Linked DNA regions of Homo sapiens: regions 1, 2, 3 and 4 are each linked to region 5. Evidence: promoter capture Hi-C in 16 types of primary human blood cells and fetal thymus (Javierre and others, 2016). All regions are on one chromosome and are shown on one strand. The core of a region is centred on a gene start or on the middle of the fragment in contact, and the rest is flanking DNA. Distances in the headings are between cores, read along the strand shown. Region 1 holds the start of POLD1 (DNA polymerase delta 1, catalytic subunit). Region 2 overlaps NAPSA (napsin A aspartic peptidase). Region 3 overlaps MYH14 (myosin heavy chain 14). Region 4 overlaps MYH14 (myosin heavy chain 14). Region 5 holds the start of CLEC11A (C-type lectin domain containing 11A).

Region 1 (4,606 bases), core at 523-3,022, 340 kb before region 5:
GTCGGAGATCTGGGACGTCCACGAGTGAGGGGCTGGCCACCCAGCCCCACAGCCTTGCCTGACCACCCTCCAGCAGATAGACGCCGGCACCCCTTCCTCTTCCTAGGGTGGAAGGGGCCCTGGGCCGAGCCTGTAGACCTATCGGCTCTCATCCCTTGGGATAAGCCCCAGTCCAGGTCCAGGAGGCTCCCTCCCTGCCCAGCGAGTCTTCCAGAAGGGGTGAAAGGGTTGCAGGTCCCGACCACTGACCCTTCCCGGCTGCCCTCCCTCCCCAGCTTACACCTCAAGCCCAGCACGCAGTGCACCTTGAACAGAGGGAGGGGAGGACCCATGGCTCTCCCCCCTAGCCCGGGAGACCAGGGCCTTCCTCTTCCTCTGCTTTTATTTAATAAAAACTAAAAACAGAAACAGGAAAATAAAATATGAATACAATCCAGCCCGGAGCTGGAGTGCAAGATGGAGAGGGCGCGGGCTTCTAGGGACCTCAGTGACACTGGGTGCCCGAACCTGATTGAGCAGGTGGGACTGGGTGTCCCCAGGCTGTTGGGAAAAGGGTGGCACATAGGGTCCCAGTGTTGGGTGGTGTGTCGCCTGCTGTGAAAGTTCAGGACAGAGGCCTCAGCCTCAGGGTCACCTCCCTGGACAAGGTGAATCAGAACTCACCCTTGAAGGATAAACAGGATTTAAGTGAATGAGGGGACCTGGACTTCTGTCCGAACAACAAGTGTTTGCTGAGGCCTCCTGTGGGCCAGGCACTGGGTTGGCCATTCTAGAGATGGAGACATTCACCCAATAAATGTTTCCAGAGCATTAACTACAGTTAGGCACAATTCTAGGCACTGGAAACATCTGTGAACAAGATAACCATCCTCCTACCAAGACTCGGGGGATAGGGACTTTAATGAGCGTGGCACTGTGGTGGGGCTAGAGGAAATCAGGGAAGGTATCACAACAGAGGCAATCGCTGGGACCTAAAACAAGAGCCTGGGGGCTGGGCCTCCAAGTTGAGGGAACAGCACGTGCAAAGTTTGAAAGGAGAGACGCCAGGAGTTCGGAGCGAAGCGACGAAGTTCCTCCAATCCTTCCTGCCCCTGTGCCAGCCCTGAAGGAGCTGAATGAGCAATTCCAATCGAGGGCGAAAGGGGGGTTGGATGGAGGGATGCAACTTAAAGGTGTATTTATTTGGGGCGGGGAACAGCGGAAGTGAGAGTAGTTACCAATGATCACCTTATCCTAAGAGTAGTGTACCGGGCGCCCCACAAGTGTCCCTATCATGCGTTGTTGAGTCTAATTTACGTATAGGGAAACTGAAGCTAGGATGAAGGAGAACAGATCAAGCCAGGACTCTACCGCTTATCGGCCAGCCTCTGCGGGGATCTTGGGCGTCAGGTCACCAGCTGGCTGCTGGGCAGCGACGGGGCAGCGCTCCCTACACGGCCCCGGGCGAGAGGCGGGCGGGGGGACGCGGAGGATGCGCGCGCAACACCCGAGGGTGGGAGGAGAGAGAACAGAACCGCGGCGCGCCCAGACCGCACGAGGTCGTGAAGGTAGCCGCGCGGAGGGGCGTGGCTTCGGGCAGACAGGTCATGGGGAGGCGGAGTTAAGGGAATTTTTCAGCAAGGGGGCGAGGCCACTTCGGAAGCTGAGAGAGGGGGCGGGGCCTGCCCTGCAGTCGAACAAGCGGGGCGTGGCCTTGCCCGCACTTGGGCAGGCGGGGGCGTGGCCCGTCTCTGAGCGCCGCGGCTCTGGGCTTGCGCGCGCGGGAGTCAGGGGTCACGGCGGCGTAGGCTGTGGCGGGAAACGCTGTTTGAAGCGGGTGAGTAGAGGGGAAAAAGGGAGTTCGGGGCAGTGGGCCTGGTAGGGAACGGGGCTTGAGCAGCCAGGCACATAGATCTGAGAGACGGTTGCGAGGGCACCCTTTGGCCCGGGGGCGCGCAGGAGAGGGCAGGGGCCAGGGGTTTCCTGGGCGAGGGCGCGGGGACGAGCAGGAAAAGGCCGGGGTGGGGGTGGAATTCCTCGGCGGGCAGGGGGCGCATGCGCCGGGCACCGTGGGGCGGGACGTGGCCCGGGAGGAGCTGGGGGGACTGGGTGGTGCACGTGCGGGCTTGGTGTCATCCTGGATTCGCTGGGTGTTTGAGTACTCTGTGCCAGGCACTTTTCTGGAAGCAGGAACAAGTCAGAGAAGTCCCTGTCTCGGGAAGACAGACGGTAGACAAGTGATGAGTTTTAATAGATCAGTAAAGCAGTGCTCTGGGGCTGTGAGATGCTCTCAGAAGGAAACTAACGCAGGGTAACGTGATAATGAGCGAAGAGCCTGTTGCTTTAGCTGGAGTGGTCCAGAATCGACCGCTCTGGGACCCTCAAGTGCAAAGCCCTGAGGTGGAAGGAGCTTGGCGTATTTGTAGCAGGAGCCGAGGGGACGAGAGAAACACAGATGAGGTCGGAGTCATGATGGGGAACTAGATCCTATAGGGCCTTGTAAAACTTGGTATGGAATTTCTCCTTTATTCTAGGTTCAGCGGGGAGCCGTGGGAGGGTTTGAGCGTGGAAACAACACGATTCGCCCCATGTTTTGAAAAACTCACCACTGAGTGGAAATTGGATTGTAGCAGGAATAAGAATGGAAGGAGGGAGATCTGTTAGGAGGGAGAGCGTCCTGCAGGCAGAGAATCAGGCTCCGGTTACCTTTGCGGGCGGAGACAGGGGGACTGGCTGATGGACTGGGCGTAGGAGCAAGGGGAAGAGTCCAGGATGACTCCTGGGTTTGTGGTTTGAGCAGCAGGCTGGATGGGGAAGGCTAAGGGAGAAGCAGGTTGGGGTTGCCGCTCTGAAGGCAAAGATTAGTGGGGGAGTGAGTGGGCAGGGTTTAGAGCGGAGCCAGGAGTGGGCAGGGCGATGTCAGTGCCTCGCCTCAGCCCTTCCACTGAAGGAACTTGTTGCCACTGTCTTCTCTTTTTTTTTTTTTTTTTTTTGAGACAGAGTCTTGCTCTGTCACCCAGGCTGGAATGCAGTGGTGCAAACTCAGCTCATTGCAACCTCCGCCTCCCGAGTTCAGGCGAGTCTCGTGCCTCAGCCTCCTGAGTAGCTGGGATTACGGCACCCACTGCCATGCCCAGCTCATTTTTTGTATTTTTAGTAGAGATGGGGTTTCGCCGTGTTGGCCAGGCTGGTCTCGAACTCCTGACCTCAGGTGATCCACTTGCCTCGGCCTCCCAAAGTGCTGGGATTACAGGCGTGAGCCACCACGCACGGCCGCTTCTCCTCCTTCCTGCACTTCCCCCCCACAGGTCTCTCTTCCCCCTAGAGAGGTTCCTTCCCTCCCCCTGAAATGCTCTTCCCTCTCTTATGTGTTTCTGACAGCTGCTGTTTGGACAGGCCCTCTGCTGAGCACTGGGGAGCCAATGATCATTCAGTTTGGTTGGGGAAGGACAGGAGATTTCAGTCCAGAGTGCGCTGAGCTATGGCGGAGCAGTGATAGTCTTTGGGAGCCAAGAGAAGAACCTGTGCGCTCAGGGAAGACTCACCAGAGTGGTTGATATTCACAGGGAGTTTCAACTCACATGTCTTTTTTTTTTTGGTTTTTGAGACAGGGTCTTGCTCTGTCGCCCAGGCTGGAGTGCAGTGGCGCGATCTCGGCTCACTAACCTCCACCTCCCGGGTTCAAGCGATTCTCATGCCTCAGGCTTCCGAGTAGCTGGGATTACAGGTGTGTGCCACCACGCCCAGCTAATTTTTGTATTTTTAGTAGAGACAGGGTTTTGTCATGTTGCCCAGACTGGTCTCGAATCCCTGACCTCAAGTAATCCTCCCACCTCGGCCTCCCAAAGTGCTGGGATTACAGGTGTGAGCCACCACACCCGGCCTAAACTCATGTCTTGAAGTAACCGGACACTGTGCAGAGTGATGCTGGAGACCCCAACTTGGGCAAGATGCTGACTCCTTTTCTCAAGGAGCTCACAGGCTGAAAGGATCCCAGCTCTGCATTGTGCAATAACGAAAGTGGCACAAGGCGTTGTGGGAACCCTGAAGGGCAGCTGGTCAGCTTGGAGGAGCTAAGCCTGAGCTGAGTCTCTGGATGCAGTGGAGTTTCATGCAGCGAACACTGCCTAAGGCCTCCTGGGGGCCCACCCTGTGCTGGGTGATGCTAAGGTCCCAGAGGAGAGTCAGTCCTTGCTCTGCCATCCAGAGGTCCCTGGCTGGTAAGGGAGGAAGACACACACCCAGGCAGTCCAGAGACAGCAGTCACAGAGGCCTAGGGGAAGGACAAGGCCGAAAGCATGCAGGTGAGCCTGGGCAACATAGCAAGACCCTGTCTCTACAAAAAATACAAAAGCTAGGCCGGGCGCGGTGGCTAAGGCCTGTAATCCCAGCACTTTGGGAGGCCGAGGCGGGCAGATCATGAGGTCAGGAGACCAAGACCATCCTGGCTAACACGGTGAAACCCCGTCTCTACTAAAAATACAAAAAATTAGCCGGGCGTGGTGGTGGGCGCCTGTAATCCCAGCACTTTGGGAGGCCGAGGTGGACGGATCACTTGAGGTGAGGAGTTTGAGACCAGTCTGGCAGACATGGTGAAACTCTACTAAAAATACACAACTAGCTGGAC
Region 2 (4,618 bases), core at 77-2,576, 360 kb before region 5:
GTGAGGGGTGGGATGTAGTGTGCCGGGTCCGAGCCCCCCAGGACCAGCTCTCCTCCATCAGGCTCTTCAGGGTCCCTGCAGGGGCAGAGTGTAGAGAGTGTAGATGTCAGTGTCACTGGCCCTCCCTCAGCCCTAGGTATTGCCAGGAATGGCACTTCCCACCAACTGGGTTGTTTCTGGAGTTCCTACGGGGTAATGGGATGCAGGAAGGGCCTAGATGTTGGGACTGGAAGCCGGGCAAGAAAAGCATGATGCTTTTCTTGGTGGAAGCTAGAACTTCCTGAAGTGAAGACGAGACTTCATTTGGCTGTGGAAGGTAGAGTTTTGGGGAATTTCCTGAGCTGAATATCATAGTAACCAAGTAGAGCAGTGGTGTCTTGGAATTGGCTCTTGAAGGTGTGACTTGTGCAGGGGTGGGGTGGCTTCCTGAGTAGGAGAAGAGAATTTCTGAATTGCCTGTTGTGATATCTAGAGAGGTGTTAGACTTCCTGAGTTGGCTGAGAGCGATGGGAACAGGGATGGAGACTTCCTGGAAGGTGGAGGAGAGCAGGATCTGCTAGGTGGTTGGTAGAACTGCTAGAGTGGGTTGGATGTCAGGGTAACTGAGTGGGCATAGGATTTTCTGACTGTGTGTGACAGGCCTCTGGGAGGGAAAGTGGAGACTTCTTGGAAACTTCTTGGATGTTGGGTGGGACTTCTGAGCATAATACTGAACTTCCTAGCAGGTGAGTGGGACTTCCTGGATTAAATCGGGCAATTCCTGACTTCTGGTCAGTGTTCTCAAATGGGATTTGAGCATTCTTTGTGAGGAAGAGAAAGCTCCTGAGTATTTTGTTGGGTGGGGCATGGAATTTCCTAGTTTGATTTTGAAACATGGAGCATTCTGAACTGATGGTGGGTTTCCTTAGTATGTCTTAAGTTGTCATTTAAGCTCTGGGACTTCGAATAGGGTTGAGGTGTTTCTTTATAGGGCAGGTGACTTCCTGCATGGAGGATGCAACTTCTTGTATTGAATGGCTGACTTCCTGAATGGACAGTGTAAGTGGGTGACTCTGAGAATGAGAATTCCTGCATTGGGTCAGTGACTTCCTGAAGGAAGACTCTCTTCCTTCTTGGGGATAGGACTCATAGATAGGTGCACACTTCCCAGTACCTGTTGAGGTAAAAGGAGAAGACAGGCTTATCCAATAGCCCCTGCTCCACCAGTACATCCATCGGGGGCCGAACTCCTTCCACAGACAGAATGGGAAAACCGAGGCCCAATATCCCATCAAAATGGGCAAAAGCGAAGACCAGGCTGGGCTCCCAGAGAGCCTCCCCGAAAATCACTGATGCACCCTTGATTCCACCAATCTAGGGGTAGATTGAGATGTGACCAGTTACTTTTGGGAGGACAATAACCACATGTCCTGAGGTCTCCCAAACCAAGGCATGAATCCTAGGTCTGGGGACTTCTGGATGCAAGCCCCAACTTCCTAGGAAACTATGCCTCTTGAGAAGCCCCACCCCTTCACCCAGGAACCCCTTTCTTCTCCTTGAGAAGCCCCACCTCTTCACCCAGGAAGCTCCTCCCCTGCTTGAGAAGCCCCACCTCTTCACCCAGGAAGCTCCTCCTCCCTGCTTGAGAAGCCCCACCTCTTAACCTTGGAAGCTCCTCCCCCCTGCTTGAGAAGCCCCACCTCTTCACCCAGGAAGCCCCTCCCCCTCCTTGTGACGCACCATCCCTTCACTCTGAAAGGCAGGCCCTCCTCCCCACTTGAAAAGCCCCATCCATTGGCTTGGGAAGCTCCTCCTCGAGCCTCTTCCTAAGCCAGATGATCTTAGACAATGGGGTTCTCCCAGGCTCAAGACTTCTGAGAGTCAAAGGCCACTCACAGTCAGCTTGTCCTCGCTCAGGATTCCATCTACCCGCCCAGTTCCATATTGAATGGCAAACTTGGTCCCATTGGCCTGGAAGGAGCTAGAGGCTTTGGGATCAAATCGGTGGTGTAACCCTAGGTTAGAGGTCAGAAAGGTGTCATGGGGGAGGGAATCTCCCCAGTGCCTACTGCCCCTTTGACTTTCTGACCTGTGAGGGCATGATAAAAGAACAGTTCCTCAAAAGCCTCTGAGAAGCTGAGGTCCAGCCCCGCCTCCTCCCTTCACCCCCATTCAGCCTTATTCTCCCACATAGAAGCTCACAGCAGGGCACACTGAAGAAGTGGCATCTCCTGGACGGGACCCAGAGATTGGAGGAGCCAGTGTCAAAGGCAACAGTGAAGTTTTGTGGAGGCGTTCCCAGCCCAATTTCCCCAAAATACTGCACCTGATAGCAAAAGAGGAGAGTAAACGAAGAGTTTGGCTCAAGGGCGCAGGGGTGAGGGCTGTGTGGGGCTGTGACTCACATCCCTGTAGTTCGAGAGAGGTACGAAGATGGGCTTGTCCCCAGGGGATGGGGCCCCCAACTTGGGGAGCTCTGCTGGTTCTCTCCATCCCCTCAGTAGGTTCAGGATCCTGCGTCCAGGTTGGACTCGATGAAGAGGGATGCTGTAGGGAAAGAGGATATTGACAGGAAGCTGCCCTTCTTGGAGAACCTCTAAATAGACTTACCCAAATAGGATATGATGACAAATTCAACATCTCCAAGGCACTACAATAGTAGTCAGTACCAGAAACCCTGCAATAACAACCTCCAGAAAAGCCCATCAAAGATGCCATGATGACAAATATCCCCAAAGACTTTACAAGAGCAAACCATCCCAAACAGACCTTTCCATGTCCAAATCCCTTAAAATAAGCTATTCCCAAGGAATTGACATTCTTAAAGATTTCCCAAGACCCTAACAGAAAACCTAACCTTTGCAAAAGCCCTTGGGTGGTGGCCCCTGCATGCTTCAGTTCGTGAGGTTAGGGACTATTTTCCCCACCCTTGAGGAGAAAAATGTAAGCGTCAAATCTTAATTGTCTTGCTGTGTTGCCCGTGCTGATCTCAAACTCCTGGCCTCAGCCTCCTAAAGTGCTGGGATTACAGAGGAGAGCCACTATGCCCTGTCCGGGTTCCTTTAAACTGTATTTGCAAAAGCAGGAGGCAAACAGGATTTGGCCCTTAAGCTGAGTGTTTGCAACCCTTGACTTAGAGGGCCAATTACAATTCAGGTATCTTAGTTGCTAATTAAGTAGGTCTAGGATGGAGCCGAGAATTTGGATTTCTAACAAGTTCCCAGGTCATGACGATGCTGTTGATACAACATTTGGAGACTCATTTTCTTTGCATTGACTTAGAAAATGGCCATGAGACATTAGGTTCAAAAAGCAGGTTAACAAGCACCATGTGCGGTAATATCTTCGTTCCTGCCTTTAGTCACTCCTTGAAGCACTTGTCACATCACTCACACCTTTCCCGTCACCCCCCATGAGTCAGTCTTTGAGAGGCACGAGAATGTGAAGTGGGGAAAACTCTTCCTGGAAGTGTACACCCCTCCCCCTACCAAGAGTTCCAGGGAATGAAGACAAGAGAGGAGAAAAAGAGAGATGGGGGCGGGGAGGGGACATCAGAGGTAAGGTAGTGGGAAGACTTCTTGCATAGGGTCCCCAAGATTGGATTTCTTTTTCTTCTTTTAAACTTTTTATTTGAAACAGGGTCTCCCTCTGTCACCCAGGCTGGAGTGCAGTAGTGCAGTCAGGGCTCACTGCAGCCTTGATCTCCAGGGCTCAAGTGATTCTCCCACCTCAGCCTCTGGAGTAGCTGAGACTATGGGCACACCACCACACCTGGCTTTTTATTTTATTTTATTTTATTTATTAATTTTTTTTTTAGACAAGGTGTCACCCTGTTGCCCAGCCTGGAGTGCAGTAGCAGGATCATAGCCCACTGCCCCCTCGAACTACTGGGCTCAAGCAATCCTCCTTCCTCACCCTCCTGAACTAGCTGGGACCATGGGTGTGCACCACCACACTGAGCTAATTTTTGTATTTTTTGTAGAGGTGGAGTCTGGCCATGTTGCCCAGGCTGGTCTCAAAACTCTTGGCCTCAAACAAGCTTCCCACCTTGGACTTCCAAAGTGCTGGGTTACAGGTGTGAGCCATGTCTCTGGCCAAAAACATGACTTCTTCAGGCCAGTTTGATGGGCGTGATGTGGGGGAGTCTCAGTTTAAATGTCACATATCTGGGGCTCGAAGATGGGAGGAGTGTGTCACAGGTCTGGAAACCACAGTACCTAATCATCAGAGCTCATAGTAGGGTCTGCAGAGACCTCTCAAAAACATGTCCTGGCCAGGCGCAGTGGCTCACGCCTGTAATCCCAGCACTTTGGGAGGCTGAGGCAGGCAGATCACGAAGTCAGGAGTTCAAGACCAGCTTGGCCAACATGGTGAAACCTCATCTCTACTAAAGATACAAAAAAAATTAGCCGGGCATGGTGACTCACGCCTGTAATCCCAGCACTTTCAGAGGCAGGAGAATGGTGTCAGCCTGGGAGGTGGAGGTTGCAGTGAGCTGAGATCGCGCCATTGCACTCCAGCCTGGGCGACAGGGCAAGACTCCGTCTCAAAAAAAAAAAAAAAAAAAGGCCAGGCGCGGTGGCTTACGCCTGTAATCCCAGCACTTTGCGAGGCTGAGGTGGGTGGATCACGAGGTCAG
Region 3 (4,145 bases), core at 532-3,031, 470 kb before region 5:
GGGGGACGAGCTGGGGGCCCTTCCCCGGTTCACCCCCGACGTCTTTCAGTCTGCTGATGTGCAGGCTGCGCCCTTACCATGAGCCCTGTCCCACAGGCTGACTTCGCGCTGGAGGCCCTGGCCAAGGCCACCTACGAGCGCCTCTTCCGCTGGCTGGTTCTGCGCCTCAACCGGGCCTTGGACCGCAGCCCCCGCCAAGGCGCCTCCTTCCTGGGCATCCTGGACATCGCGGGCTTTGAGATCTTCCAGGTCCACCCTTGTGCTGGGAGGGGGATGCCAACTTCCTCACTCCGGTCCTGGTCCTTTCTGAAGCCCTGGGTCTCTCCCCTTCTCCCTGGTCTCTGTCCCCCTCTCTCTCTCTGAGTCTCTGTTCCCCCCTCTCTCTGGTCTCTGTCCCCCTCTCTCTGGGTCTCTGTCCCCTGTCTCTGGGTCTCTGTCCCCTTCTCTCTCTGGGTCTCTGTCCCCTGTCTCTGGGTCTCTGTCCCCCTCTCTCTCTGGGTCTCTGTCCTCTCTCTCTGCATCTCTGTCCCCTGTCTCTGGGTCTCTGCCTCTCTGTCTCTGGGTCTCTGTCCCCTGTCTCTGGCTCTGTCCCCTGTCTCTGGGTCTCTGTCCCCCTCTCTCTGGGTCTCTGTCCCCCTCTCTCTGGGTCTCTGTCCCCTCTCGATGCATCTCTGTCCCCTGTCTCTGGGTCTCTGTCCCCTGTCTCTGGGTCTCTGTCCCTCTCCATCCTCCCAGCTCACGTGTCCTGCGTCCCTGCAGCTGAACTCCTTCGAGCAGCTCTGCATCAACTACACCAACGAGAAGCTGCAGCAGCTCTTCAACCACACCATGTTCGTGCTGGAGCAGGAGGAGTACCAGCGTGAGGGCATCCCCTGGACCTTCCTCGACTTTGGCCTCGACCTGCAGCCCTGCATCGACCTCATCGAGCGGCCGGTGAGCCCCAGGCCCCTCCCAGCCCACACTCACGGTTCAGATCCGTCTCTCCCAGCATCTGCGAGACCAGGGTCTAGCTCCTCCTCTGCTGGGCCTCAGGATGCCCCATGGGTTCTGTGGGGAAGGTGACAGCACCTGCTTCCTCGATCTTTTGTGACCATAGGTGATTAGGGCCCAGAATGTGCCTGCCACAGGGCCCGGCTCAAATCAATCGGTTAATCAGAGCTCTCACCGTAACTGTTGTTCTCACGTTTGTTTTTTGTTTGTTTGTTTTGTTTTGTTTTGTTTTTTTCTTGAGACGGAGTCTCGCTCTATCGCCCAGGCTGGAGTGCAGCGGCGCGATCTCTGCTTACTGCAAGCTTCGCCCCCTGGGTTCACGCCATTCTCCTGCCTCAGCCTCCCGAGTAGCTGGGACTACAGGTGCCCGCCACCACGCCCGGCTAATTTTTTGTATTTTTAGTAGAGTCGGGGGTTTCACTGTGTTAGCCAGGATGGTCTCGATCTCCTGACCTCGTGATCTACCCGCCTCGGCCTCCCAAAGTGCTGGGATTACAGGCGTGAGCCACCGTGCCTGGCATCTCACGTTTGTTTTTATGTCCAAGTGTGACTTATAAGAGCTAAAAATCAGCAGCCACCTGAGTGTCCAATATGTGGGGATCTGACTTACTCTCCCCCTGCTGTCAATGGCCAGGCCAACCCCCCTGGACTCCTGGCCCTGCTGGATGAGGAGTGCTGGTTCCCGAAGGCCACAGACAAGTCGTTTGTGGAGAAGGTAGCCCAGGAGCAGGGCGGCCACCCCAAGTTCCAGCGGCCGAGGCACCTGCGGGATCAGGCCGACTTCAGTGTTCTCCACTACGCGGGCAAGGTAGGGGCTGGGGCCGGCCTTGGGGCATGTGGGAGTGGGGATCAAGGGATCTCCACTGGCTACAGATGGGGGGAGGGTGCAGAGGGAAAACAGGGTCCTCCTGAGGTCCAGACAAACAGAGCAGGGGCTAGGAGAGCCCAGGGAGGAGCAAGGATTCTGTCTGATGGGATCACCAAAAACTTCCTCAAAGAGGTGATATTTGCAGTGGGTTTTGAGGGATGGGTAGGAGTTCATCAGGAGGCGATCTATGTGCATTTTATCCACTTATTCAGCAGATATGTGCGGGGTGCCATTTGTGTGCCCAGCTCGGGGCCGAGCAAAGCTGGATACACAGATCAAACATGGTTTCTGTCCTCACAAAGATCCCTATCTGGGAGGGAGGCAAATACAGACGATCAGGATATAAGGTTAATAGGTCTTTCAGTGGAGGCAGCTGAGGGTAGTGTCAGAGCCCAGAAGAGAAGTACCTGGGAAAGCTTCACAGAAGAGAATATGCTCAATCTCAAATCTCAGTCAAGGGCCGGCAAACATTTTCTGTAAAGGGTCCGATAGTAAATAGTTTCAGCTTTGTGGGCCAGACGATCTCTGTCACAGCTACACAATTCTGCTGTGGTCACACAAAAAGAGCCACAGATAATACATAAGTATCTTCAAGCCCCCAGGGAAAAAGAAAGGAAAAACAGACTGAGAAACAGTTTCGAGGGCTCTCTTGCCCCCAGAAGGGCCCCCATGAGTTTGACTATGAAGACATAAATGAAGGTTCTATTCCTATATATATATACACATATATATATACACACATATATATATACACACATATATATATACACACTACACACACACACACACACACACACACACACACACACACACACACACACATATATATATGTATTTTTTTTTATTTGAGACAGAGTCTCCCTCTGTTACCCAGGCTGGAGTGCAGTGGCACGATCTCGGCTCACTGCAATCTCCGCCTCCTAGGTTCAAGCAATTCTTCTGCCTCAGCCTCCCCAGTAGCTGGGATTACAGGCACCTGCCACCATGCCTGGCTAATTTTTGTATTTTTAGTAGAGACAGGGTTTCACCATGTTGGCCAGGCTGCTCTCGAACTCCTGACCTCAGTTGATCCACCCGCATAGGCCTCCCAAAGTGCTGGGATTACAGGTGTGAGCCACCGCGCCCAGCCCTATTCCAGTGAAAGTATTTGCAAAAAGAGGTGGCAGGCTGGATTTTGCCTGTGAGCCATAGTTTGCTGACCCCTGGTTTTGATGATGTGGACCAGGCAGCCCCAGAGGATGGGTGAAGGGTGGGAAGGGCTCTCCAGGCAGAGGGAACAGCATAGACAATGGCTGGGAGGCAGGAGATTCCATGTGTTCTGTGTCTAGCCCTCAGTTTCTTCCCCAGACATACTCCAGAACTCCCCCTGTACCCAGCCCTCTGCTAGGCCGTGAGTCAGACCTGGGCCCTGCCCTCGGGGGACCGCTGTCTGGTGGGGGGCACATATGCAGAGAATTGTAGCGGCCAAGATCGTGACTCTATGGAGCCCCACAGCAAAGCCCTGAGTACCCAGAAGGAGCCAGTGGTGTGAAACCCACAGAGACAGAACCCCAGGTGGCAGGAACCGCAGGGGTAAAACCCCGAGGTGGGAGTAAGCTCGCATGTTTGAGGAACAGTGCGGAGGCCAGGGTGGCTGGAGCGGAATGAATAGGAAGAAAGTGGTGGTGGTGGAGGTCACAGAGGTGGCAGGGGGCATAGAGGGGAAGGAGAGAGAGGGGACCATGCTGGTGGGGTGCAGTTCAGAATATGGACACAAGGTGGCACCAGTGCTCGCTTGTCCATGGTGAGCTCCAGACCTGGGAGTCTCAGAGCTTCTGGAAGGCTCCTTAGGAAATCCAGAGAATGTCTGAGCCTGCAAGTCATCGCCCTCCTCTACCTGACTTCATTCAGGTCGACTACAAGGCCAACGAGTGGCTGATGAAAAACATGGACCCTCTGAATGACAACGTCGCAGCCTTGCTCCACCAGAGCACAGACCGGCTGACGGCAGAGATCTGGAAAGACGGTGAGGACCCACTTCCCCCACCCCGGCTCTAGGGGTCTGTGCGGCCATTCTCCAAATCCACAGCGTGAGCACCTTTGTTTCAGAGGCGGAGGTCTGAACCTGAGTTTTCTGCTCAGACCCAGAATAGCCAGTGTCACAAATAGTATTTCAAATCAGTGATGGATGGATCCATAGATTAATTGATTGACTATTGATTTGATTGATAAGCCAGCATCCTTCTCAAGGATAAAGCACTCCGCCTTAATCAGAAACGTGGCAAAGATACCCACTAACACTACTGTT
Region 4 (4,209 bases), core at 1,163-3,662, 440 kb before region 5:
ACTTCGTCTCTACTAAAAATACAAAATTAGCCGGGTGTGGTGGCGCATGCCTGTAATCCTAGCTACTTGGGAGGCTAAGGCAGGAGAATCACTTGCACCTGGGAGGCGGAGGTTGCAGTGAGCCGAGATTGCACCATTGCGCTCTAGCCTGGGCAACAAGAGTGAAACTCTGTCTCAAAAAAACCCCAAAAAACAACAGCACGCAATAGATCCATATACCTTTCTATTGCCGAATAATGCCCGTTGTATGGATATTCCACATTTGTTTATCCATTCGTTTATTGATGGACATTGGGGCTGTTCCCGCCTCTTGGCGATGGTGAGTAATGCCACTGAGAACATTCCGGTACGAGTTTCTGCATAGACCTATGCGTTCATTTCTTTTGGGTATGCACCTAGGAGCGGGATTGTTGGGTCATGTGGGAACCCTATGTTTAAGCATCTGTGGATCTGCCAGACTGTTTTCCACGGCAGCTGTAACATTTCACATTCCTGCCAGTGTGGTAGAGAGTTGAGGCAGATGGGGTCACTGGGTGGAAGCCACGATTGGAGGGCTTCATTCCCGTCCCTTCCCTGCAGGCTGAACTGGAGAATGTGTCTGGGGCGCTGAACGAGGCTGAGTCCAAAACCATCCGTCTTAGCAAGGAGCTGAGCAGCACAGAAGCCCAGCTGCACGATGCCCAGGTGACCCTGCCTGCCCTTCGGCTCCACCGTCACCCTCCCCTCCTTGTCCTCCCAGCCACACCTGACATTGCCGTCTCCTCCATCTACAGGAGCTGCTGCAGGAGGAGACCAGGGCGAAATTGGCCTTGGGGTCCCGGGTGCGAGCCATGGAGGCTGAGGCAGCCGGGCTGCGTGAGCAGCTGGAGGAGGAGGCAGCTGCCAGGGAACGGGCGGGCCGTGAACTGCAGACTGCCCAGGCCCAGGTGAGCAGCCCTACGTAAGACCTTCAGGGAGGCACAGCCCCCCTCACTGCTCCTCCTGGGTTCCCCAGCTCAGGGATGGCCATGCTGCCCACCTTCTCATAGGCCAGACCCATGGGTGCCTTTCTCATCTCTGACTCCCCCTTACCCCCCACAGCCCATGCCCAGCCCTGGCTGTCCTGACCCCTGACTCTCAGCCTCATCCCTTGTCCCAGCTCCAGCTCAGCCCCAGCTCCAGTGCCGTCCTCTCCCATCTAGATCCTCCTCTTGGCCTCTGGGCCTCCAGCCTCTCCCCTAACAGCTCATCCCCTGCACAGCCCCAGAAGCTTCTTTCTTTACCTGGAGCTGACCCTGTCCCTCCTCTGCTCACAGCTCTCCCACGCCTCCCCAGTACTCCTAGACAAAGTCCATGCCTCTCAGTCAGGCATTGAGGCCCTGCAATCTCTGGTCCTTCCTCTGCCTTTAGCTGTATTCATCTCTATCTCTACTTTCCTATTTTATTTGAAAAAAACCTTTTATTTTTCCAGACTTAGCATTAGGCTCCCCTGTGGGAAGTTTCCTGACCCGTCTTCTCTTTCTCCTCTGTCCCAACTCCAGTCACCTTGGGCTGGGACTGTCTCTGCCCATGAGTCTCCCCACCAGACTGAGAGCCCCTTCAAACTAGAATCCCATCAGAGTTAGATCCAGGTCTGTAGCACAGCCTGATATAGGGCCTGATGTATGGTAGGCGTTGAGAAATGCCTATTGAATGAATGAGTGATGGTACGTGCCTGCAGATATCCTTCAACTGGCAGACTTCTATGCATACTTCAAGACCCATCTCAAATGCTCCTCCTTCAGGAAGTTTCTCCTGAATGTTCTAAACAGATTCTGGGCACTTCCTGTGGACCTCCATAGCTCCCATACTGCTACCTTAACCCCTATCACCCTGGCTGTGACTCTGTGTCTCCCCCAGCAGCCGAGGGGCTCCCCAGGAAAGACTCCAGGTCTGATTCACCTCTGCATCTTGGAGGGAGTAATTTTAATTCCCTGGAAGAACTAGGGCTCATAGTATTCACAACTTCACACCACTCAGAGGCAGAAGAGCCCAGCAGAATGACCCCTTTCCCTCTTCAGGCCTCAGTCTCTTCATCCTGGAAATGGAGCACCACCAGCTTACACCTTGGTCACTCATGGCCGTGACCACCAACCACCCTCTCTCTCCTCCCCTCAGCTTTCCGAGTGGCGGCGGCGCCAGGAGGAGGAGGCAGGGGCACTGGAGGCAGGGGAGGAGGCACGGCGCCGGGCAGCCCGGGAGGCCGAGGCCCTGACCCAGCGCCTGGCAGAAAAGACAGAGACCGTGGATCGGCTGGAGCGGGGCCGCCGCCGGCTGCAGCAGGAGCTGGACGACGCCACCATGGACCTGGAGCAGCAGCGGCAGCTTGTGAGCACCCTGGAGAAGAAGCAGCGCAAGTTTGACCAGGTGGGGCACCTCAGTTCACCCAGCCGGGGAATCAGCAAGTCCATCTACGCTTCCCATGGTCGTTGTGAGGAACCAGTAATCCGTGCTGTCACGGCTCAACTAGGCAGTTGTAGTGGACCAGGAAGCAAGACCCTTCTTTGCTCTGGGCCTCTGTAAAATAGGACATCCCTCTGTCCTGATTCATGCCTCTTGCCACAGCATAATTCCTCGTAGCACCCACTTTTACTTTCAGAGCTGCCCTGGTTTTTGGATGACAAAATATACGAATACCTTCAGTACCCCAGAGATTGCTTATGAGAATTAAATCAAATAACTCATCTCACTTCTGCTGATTCACGGGGTACCTCAGGCAAGTTGCTTTTTCCATCTCAGCTTCAGTTCGCCCATCTGGAAAATGGCAATAATACCAAGCATCTGGCAGCCTGAGGATGAAATAAAAATCACAGAACCTTAGAGAGTTCAGATCAGGCAATCCTGAGGTTCAGATCCCAATTCGGCCTCTTGATGGCTGTGTGGCTTGGGCAAATTGCTCAACCTCTCTGTGCTTTATTTTATTCATTTAGAAAATGCAGTGTGAAGCTGGGCACTGTGGCTCATGCCTGTAATCCCAGCACTTTGGGAGGCCAAGGCGGGCGGATTGCCTGAGCTCAGGAGTTCACAACCAGCATGGGCAACACGGTGAAACCCCGTCTCTACTAAAATACAAAAAAATTAGCTGGGCATGGCGGTGTGCGCCTGTAATCCTAGCTACTCGGGAGGCTGAGGCAGGAGAATCACTTGAACTGGAAAGGCGGAGGTTGCAGTGAGCCAAGATCGTGCCACTGCACTCCGGCCTGGGTGATAGAGCAAGACTCCATCTCAAAAAAAAAATAAAAAATTAAAAAAAATTTTTTTAAATTGTCATTTCCCTGTAGGTGGTGCAGTATGTTTTTCTAGCTGACTTACGATTTCTCTCTTTATGTTTGGTTCTTAGTGGTTTGACTGTGATATGCCCAGCTGTGGGTTTTTTGTATTTATCCTGCTTTAGATTCACTGTGCTTCCTGTAGCTGTGGGTTGATGTTTTTGATCAAATGTGGAACATTTCAGCCATTATTTCTTCAAATATTTTTATCTCCCACTCTCTCTCCTTCCCCTTCTTCTTGGACTCCAAATACATATGATTTGATTGTAATACTCTTCCACAGGTCATTGAAGCTTTATTATTTTTGGCATCTTCTGGAATTTTATATAAATTATTTTCACATAAATCTCTTTTGGGATGGGCTTATTTTACTCAAAATAATTTTTTTTTTTTGAGACAGAGTCTCGCTGTGTCACCAAGGCTAGAGTGCAGTGGCACGATCTCAGCTCACTGCAACCTCCACCTCTCAGGTTCAAGCGATTCTCGTGCCTCAGCCTCCCAAGTAGCTGGGATTACAGGTGTGCACCACCATGCCTGGCTAATTTTTGTGTTTTTAATAGAGACGAGGTTTCACCATTTTGGCAAGGCTGGTCTCGAACTCCTGGCTTCAAGTGATCCACCCACCTCGGCCTCCCGAAGTGCTGGGATTATAGGAGTAAGCTACCGCACCCAGCCTCAAAATAATTAGTCTGAGATCCATCCATATTTTTGCATATCAATAATGTATTCCATGTATCAATAATGTATTTTTGCTGCTGAATATTATTCCTGTGGTATAGATCAGCCACATTTTGATATTCATTAACCTTTTGATGAACATTTGGGTTTTTTTCCAGTTTTTTTCTAGTTATGGATAAAACCTTAGTCTTTCTCAAAGGTGGTTTTAATTAACATTTCCCTAATGACCAGTGACGTTGAGCAT
Region 5 (4,204 bases), core at 543-3,042:
GCCAGAAACCTTGGCTAGCTGCCGCCACACTGGTGACCTCCAGCAGGCTATGCTGTTTCAGAGCCTCGGTCTCCTCCTTTGAAGAGCAGGCCCAGTGATCCTTGGCTGGTGTGCCCCATGCTTGTTGGCACCACCAGCCAGGCCTGGGCGGGAAAAGCCCTGCATGACTCATGGGCCTGACATAGAGGGGCATGGCATGGCATTGTTCTTCCTTGCCTCCAAGCCTCTCTCCCACTGCCCTCACCACCTCTACCTACCCTGCCACCACCACCCTGGGAACTTGGGTGCCAGCAAACCAAAGAGGTGAAGCTTCCAGGCCTTTGACCCCACCAGGAACGGCTACCCTCTCGCCCACTCAACAGGTTGATTGAACACCTACTATGTGCTAGGTAGGCCTTGTGCTAGGAGATGCATCAGTGCATAAAAATCCCTGCTTTCATTGGCAGGGAACAGACATAAACAAACAAGATCATGCCAGTCTTGATTATACCAAAAAGATGAAATGGGGCATTTTAATAAAGTAACTTGCGGAATAGATAAGGTGGTTGGGGAAGACCTCCTGGAGCTGAGACCTCGATGATGAGAAGGAGCTGGGGAAAGAGGCTTCTAGAAGGAGGAAAGGGCTAGTGCAAATGCTCTGAGGTTGTAATCAGCTTAGTATTTGGGGATGAGCCAAGAGGCCAGGGAAGGTGGAGGCTGGGGGTGGGTGAAGGGAATGGGGGTGATGAGGCTGCAGAGGTGCAAAGGGTTCTTCCTTCCCAGCCCCCAGCATGGTAGGCTGCGCTGAGGACTGAGGCCCGGGCTTGGCTTCCCTCCTGCTTATGATGGGAAGGTGGGGGAGCAGGGGAGTGGGGAGTGATGTGATCTGATTTATGGTTTGGAAGGATTGCTTTGGCTGCGGCAAGCAGCCGGGATTGGAGGGGCTCAGGAGGAAGGAGGGGGAGGGCGAGACTGCAGTGGTCCAGGCTGAAATGAGGTGGCTTGCTGAATGCTCAGAGCTCCTTGAGCACACAACCTAGCGTCTGTCGATTTCACCTCCTGGAGAAACCTTCCCTGACTGCTCCGCCAGACTCCTCACCCTCTCCCATCTCCAGCCCCCTCATCCCCGGAGCTATCTGGCTGCTGGTCTGCAAGCAGCTGGAGTCCCCAGCATCACCCAGCCCACAGCCTGGCCTGCAGGAGGCTTCTAGTAAAGTGGCCAATTAATCCCCGAGCCCCGTCTTCCAGGGTCATGCACACAGTCACACGCGTGCTCTTCACATGTGTCACCCTGCCCCCACACACACTCACTTGGATCTCCAGACAAGGGCTTGGAGGGTAGGATGGGCAATCTAGGGGGCAGGAGGGGCCCTGGAGTCTCCTCCATTGAGTGTGCAGGCGATGGTGGCCACAGGGTAATAACAACCTCAGCGAGACCCTGAGGTCTGCCCCTCCTTAGGAATGGCCAGGCAGGGAAGAAGGGAGCAGTGCTCGGTCCCAGCATCCCACCACTGCCGAGATGGTTCTGAGCGGGTTCCTGGGCTGAGGCCGGGGCCTGTGTTTTCCAAGATTCCTTGGAGAGCCAGCTCCATCCTCTTCCTGATTATCTGATCTTTGGGCTACAGCAGAAGGAAAGAGCAGGGCGGAAGCGAGCTCTGGAAAGTGGAAAGAGGAGGGTGTGCGAGGAGACCCAAGGCGGGATCTAGGCTTTGGAACGTTGGAGGTTTCCGGCCACAGAGGCAGGGCCTCCGGGGAGCCAAGAGGGGCGGGGAGAGACACACACAGAGAAGCAGAGGAGACCAACGGACCGGACAGAGACGAGGAGAGGAACAGGAAGAGAGAAGCTGGGAGAATCGGGAACCTGGGGGCTAGTGACCTGCACACAGGGCAGGGGCACTCGGCAGTTCCCAGAGGCCACCCCTCCCACCCCAGACATCCAGACATCTGGAACTTTGGGTGCCAAGAGTCCAGCTTAATGCAGGCAGCCTGGCTTTTGGGGGCTTTGGTGGTCCCCCAGCTCTTGGGCTTTGGCCATGGGGCTCGGGGAGCAGAGAGGGAGTGGGAGGGAGGCTGGGGAGGTGCCCAGGAGGAGGAGCGGGAGAGGGAGGCCCTGATGCTGAAGGTGAGCTCTGGAGTGTCAGGGAGCTATGGGTGGTGAACTGTGGGTCTGGGAGGGGGTATTGCAAGGTTAGGGAAATGGACAATGAGGAGCGATTGGGATAGTCTCAGAGGAGTGGGAGGGTGATGGGCTCAGAGACAGGACTCAGGCAGCAGAGAATGAGTTATGAGTTGGAAAGGGGTGAATGGGGCATCTTGGTGGCAGGCTGGGGCTCACCACCCCTCCCCTGCCCCAGCATCTGCAGGAAGCCCTAGGACTGCCTGCTGGGAGGGGGGATGAGAATCCTGCCGGAACTGTTGAGGGAAAAGAGGACTGGGAGATGGAGGAGGACCAGGGGGAGGAAGAGGAGGAGGAAGCAACGCCAACCCCATCCTCCGGCCCCAGCCCCTCTCCCACCCCTGAGGACATCGTCACTTACATCCGTGAGTAACCAGAAGCCCTCACCCCCAAACTCCTAGGCCGCCGCGGTCACTTTCGCAAAAATGAAGGGTCGGTTCACTGCCAAGTGGCCTTTCAGTTGTCCATTGCCCAGCCCAGAGCCCCCACACCCCTAGGAGCCCCAGGTCCACGGCCATGCCTCCTAAAGGCCTGGGCCACTCGACCCTACCTTCCAGGAGTCCGGGGTGCCCCCCCCACCGCCACCCCGCCCTCAGGAGCCCTAGATCCCAGTTCTCCAGGTCCTCAGGCCCCCCGCTGCATCTCCAGGCTCCCCCTCCAGCATGATCCCTGTCTGTCCGCAGTGGGCCGCCTGGCCGGCCTGGACGCAGGCCTGCACCAGCTGCACGTCCGTCTGCACGCGTTGGACACCCGCGTGGTCGAGCTGACCCAGGGGCTGCGGCAGCTGCGGAACGCGGCAGGCGACACCCGCGATGCCGTGCAAGCCCTGCAGGAGGCGCAGGGTCGCGCCGAGCGCGAGCACGGCCGCTTGGAGGGTGAGTCCGCGGCGCGCGGGGTGGAAAAAAATGAGACTATCTGGGCCAGGAATGGGACTGGTTGAGAAGGTGACCCTAGGTGTCCGGGGCGGGAGAGTTCGGGAGAGCTGCTGTGTGCTAGCGGACGGGGTTAGAGAGCTGGGAGGCTGAATGCAGGGAGCGGGTGGGCACTCCAGACCCGCGCGGACCCGACTGGGGCAGCACCACGCCCCCTACAGTCCAGCTCCCACCGCCTGGCCCCGCCCCTGGCGGACCAGACTCTCCACCTCCTGGCTCCCGCGGTTCTGACCACGCCTCCTCCCAGCCCTCCCCATGAGTTCCTGGCCCCGCCTCCCTCCACCCCCGGATGTTTTGTCCTCGCCCCCTTCCAGACTCTGAATGCATGACCCCGCCTCCTTCTCTACCCGGCCCCGCCCACAGGCTGCCTGAAGGGGCTGCGCCTGGGCCACAAGTGCTTCCTGCTCTCGCGCGACTTCGAAGCTCAGGCGGCGGCGCAGGCGCGGTGCACGGCGCGGGGCGGGAGCCTGGCGCAGCCGGCAGACCGCCAGCAGATGGAGGCGCTCACTCGGTACCTGCGCGCGGCGCTCGCTCCCTACAACTGGCCCGTGTGGCTGGGCGTGCACGATCGGCGCGCCGAGGGCCTCTACCTCTTCGAAAACGGCCAGCGCGTGTCCTTCTTCGCCTGGCATCGCTCACCCCGCCCCGAGCTCGGCGCCCAGCCCAGCGCCTCGCCGCATCCGCTCAGCCCGGACCAGCCCAACGGTGGCACGCTCGAGAACTGCGTGGCGCAGGCCTCTGACGACGGCTCCTGGTGGGACCACGACTGCCAGCGGCGTCTCTACTACGTCTGCGAGTTCCCCTTCTAGCGGGGCCGGTACCCCGCCTCCCTGCCCATCCCACCACCCGGCCTTTCCCTGCGCCGTGCCCACCCTCCTCCGGAATCTCCCTTCCCTTCCTGGCCACGAATGGCAGCGTCCTCCCCGACCCCCAGTCTGGGCGCTTCTGGGAGGGCTCTTGCGGTGCCGGCACTCCTCCTTGTTAGTGTCTTTCCTTGAAGGGGCGGGCACCAGGCTAGGTCCGGTGCCAATAAATCCTTGTGGAATCTGACTTGAGGGGCAGTGAAGGCAGTCTTGGACTTTATCTCCTGCAGGGGAAGCCGGGAAGGGCCAGACCC

The links. The method cuts DNA at HindIII sites, captures the fragments that hold promoters and counts their contacts. A CHiCAGO score of 5 or more calls a contact.
Region 1: a contact is called between the fragment with the promoter of POLD1 here and the fragment with the promoter of CLEC11A in region 5, in 3 of 17 cell types (naive CD4 T cells, activated CD4 T cells and naive CD8 T cells). The highest score is 5.7, in naive CD4 T cells.
Region 2: a fragment that was not itself captured here is called in contact with the fragment with the promoter of CLEC11A in region 5 in 7 of 17 cell types (fetal thymus, naive B cells, naive CD4 T cells and 4 more); the score reaches 9.9 in fetal thymus.
Region 3: a fragment that was not itself captured here is called in contact with the fragment with the promoter of CLEC11A in region 5 in 1 of 17 cell types (naive B cells); the score reaches 5.4 in naive B cells.
Region 4: a fragment that was not itself captured here is called in contact with the fragment with the promoter of CLEC11A in region 5 in 5 of 17 cell types (naive B cells, total B cells, activated CD4 T cells and 2 more); the score reaches 8.9 in naive B cells.

What each region holds. Positions count from the first base shown.
Region 1 is chr19:50,382,575-50,387,180 of GRCh38, forward strand. It overlaps POLD1 (DNA polymerase delta 1, catalytic subunit), which reads left to right and starts at 1,773. Exons shown (of 27, transcript NM_002691.4): 1 at 1,773-1,816. NR1H2 (nuclear receptor subfamily 1 group H member 2) reads left to right here. Exons shown (of 10, transcript NM_007121.7): 10 at 1-814. The coding sequence ends at 28. RefSeq lists silencers at 1,437-1,536, 1,547-1,666, 1,697-1,786 and an enhancer at 2,506-3,007. The HindIII fragment of the contact is 22,211 bases long and covers 1-4,606 here.
Region 2 is chr19:50,359,788-50,364,405 of GRCh38, forward strand. It overlaps NAPSA (napsin A aspartic peptidase), which reads right to left. Exons shown (of 9, transcript NM_004851.3): 2 at 2,385-2,526; 3 at 2,182-2,305; 4 at 1,876-1,994; 5 at 1,154-1,353; 6 at 1-75. All of the region lies in intron 3 of LOC105372437 (a long non-coding RNA gene), which reads left to right. Among named protein-coding and RNA genes, the nearest start is that of NAPSA, 3.5 kb to the right of the region's middle. The HindIII fragment of the contact is 5,380 bases long and covers 1-4,016 here.
Region 3 is chr19:50,248,891-50,253,035 of GRCh38, forward strand. MYH14 (myosin heavy chain 14) reads left to right here. Exons shown (of 43, transcript NM_001145809.2): 13 at 97-249; 14 at 760-933; 15 at 1,625-1,798; 16 at 3,749-3,863. Among named protein-coding and RNA genes, the nearest start is that of MYH14, 47 kb to the left of the region's middle. The HindIII fragment of the contact is 982 bases long and covers 1,291-2,272 here.
Region 4 is chr19:50,279,458-50,283,666 of GRCh38, forward strand. It overlaps MYH14 (myosin heavy chain 14), which reads left to right. Exons shown (of 43, transcript NM_001145809.2): 31 at 580-684; 32 at 774-926; 33 at 2,137-2,385. Among named protein-coding and RNA genes, the nearest start is that of KCNC3, 48 kb to the right of the region's middle. The HindIII fragment of the contact is 2,331 bases long and covers 1,248-3,578 here.
Region 5 is chr19:50,721,572-50,725,775 of GRCh38, forward strand. CLEC11A (C-type lectin domain containing 11A) reads left to right here and starts at 1,793. Exons shown (of 4, transcript NM_002975.3): 1 at 1,793-2,101; 2 at 2,334-2,520; 3 at 2,839-3,030; 4 at 3,451-4,137. The coding sequence starts at 1,955. The coding sequence ends at 3,896. RefSeq lists silencers at 3,142-3,261, 3,302-3,361. The HindIII fragment of the contact is 4,317 bases long and covers 308-4,204 here.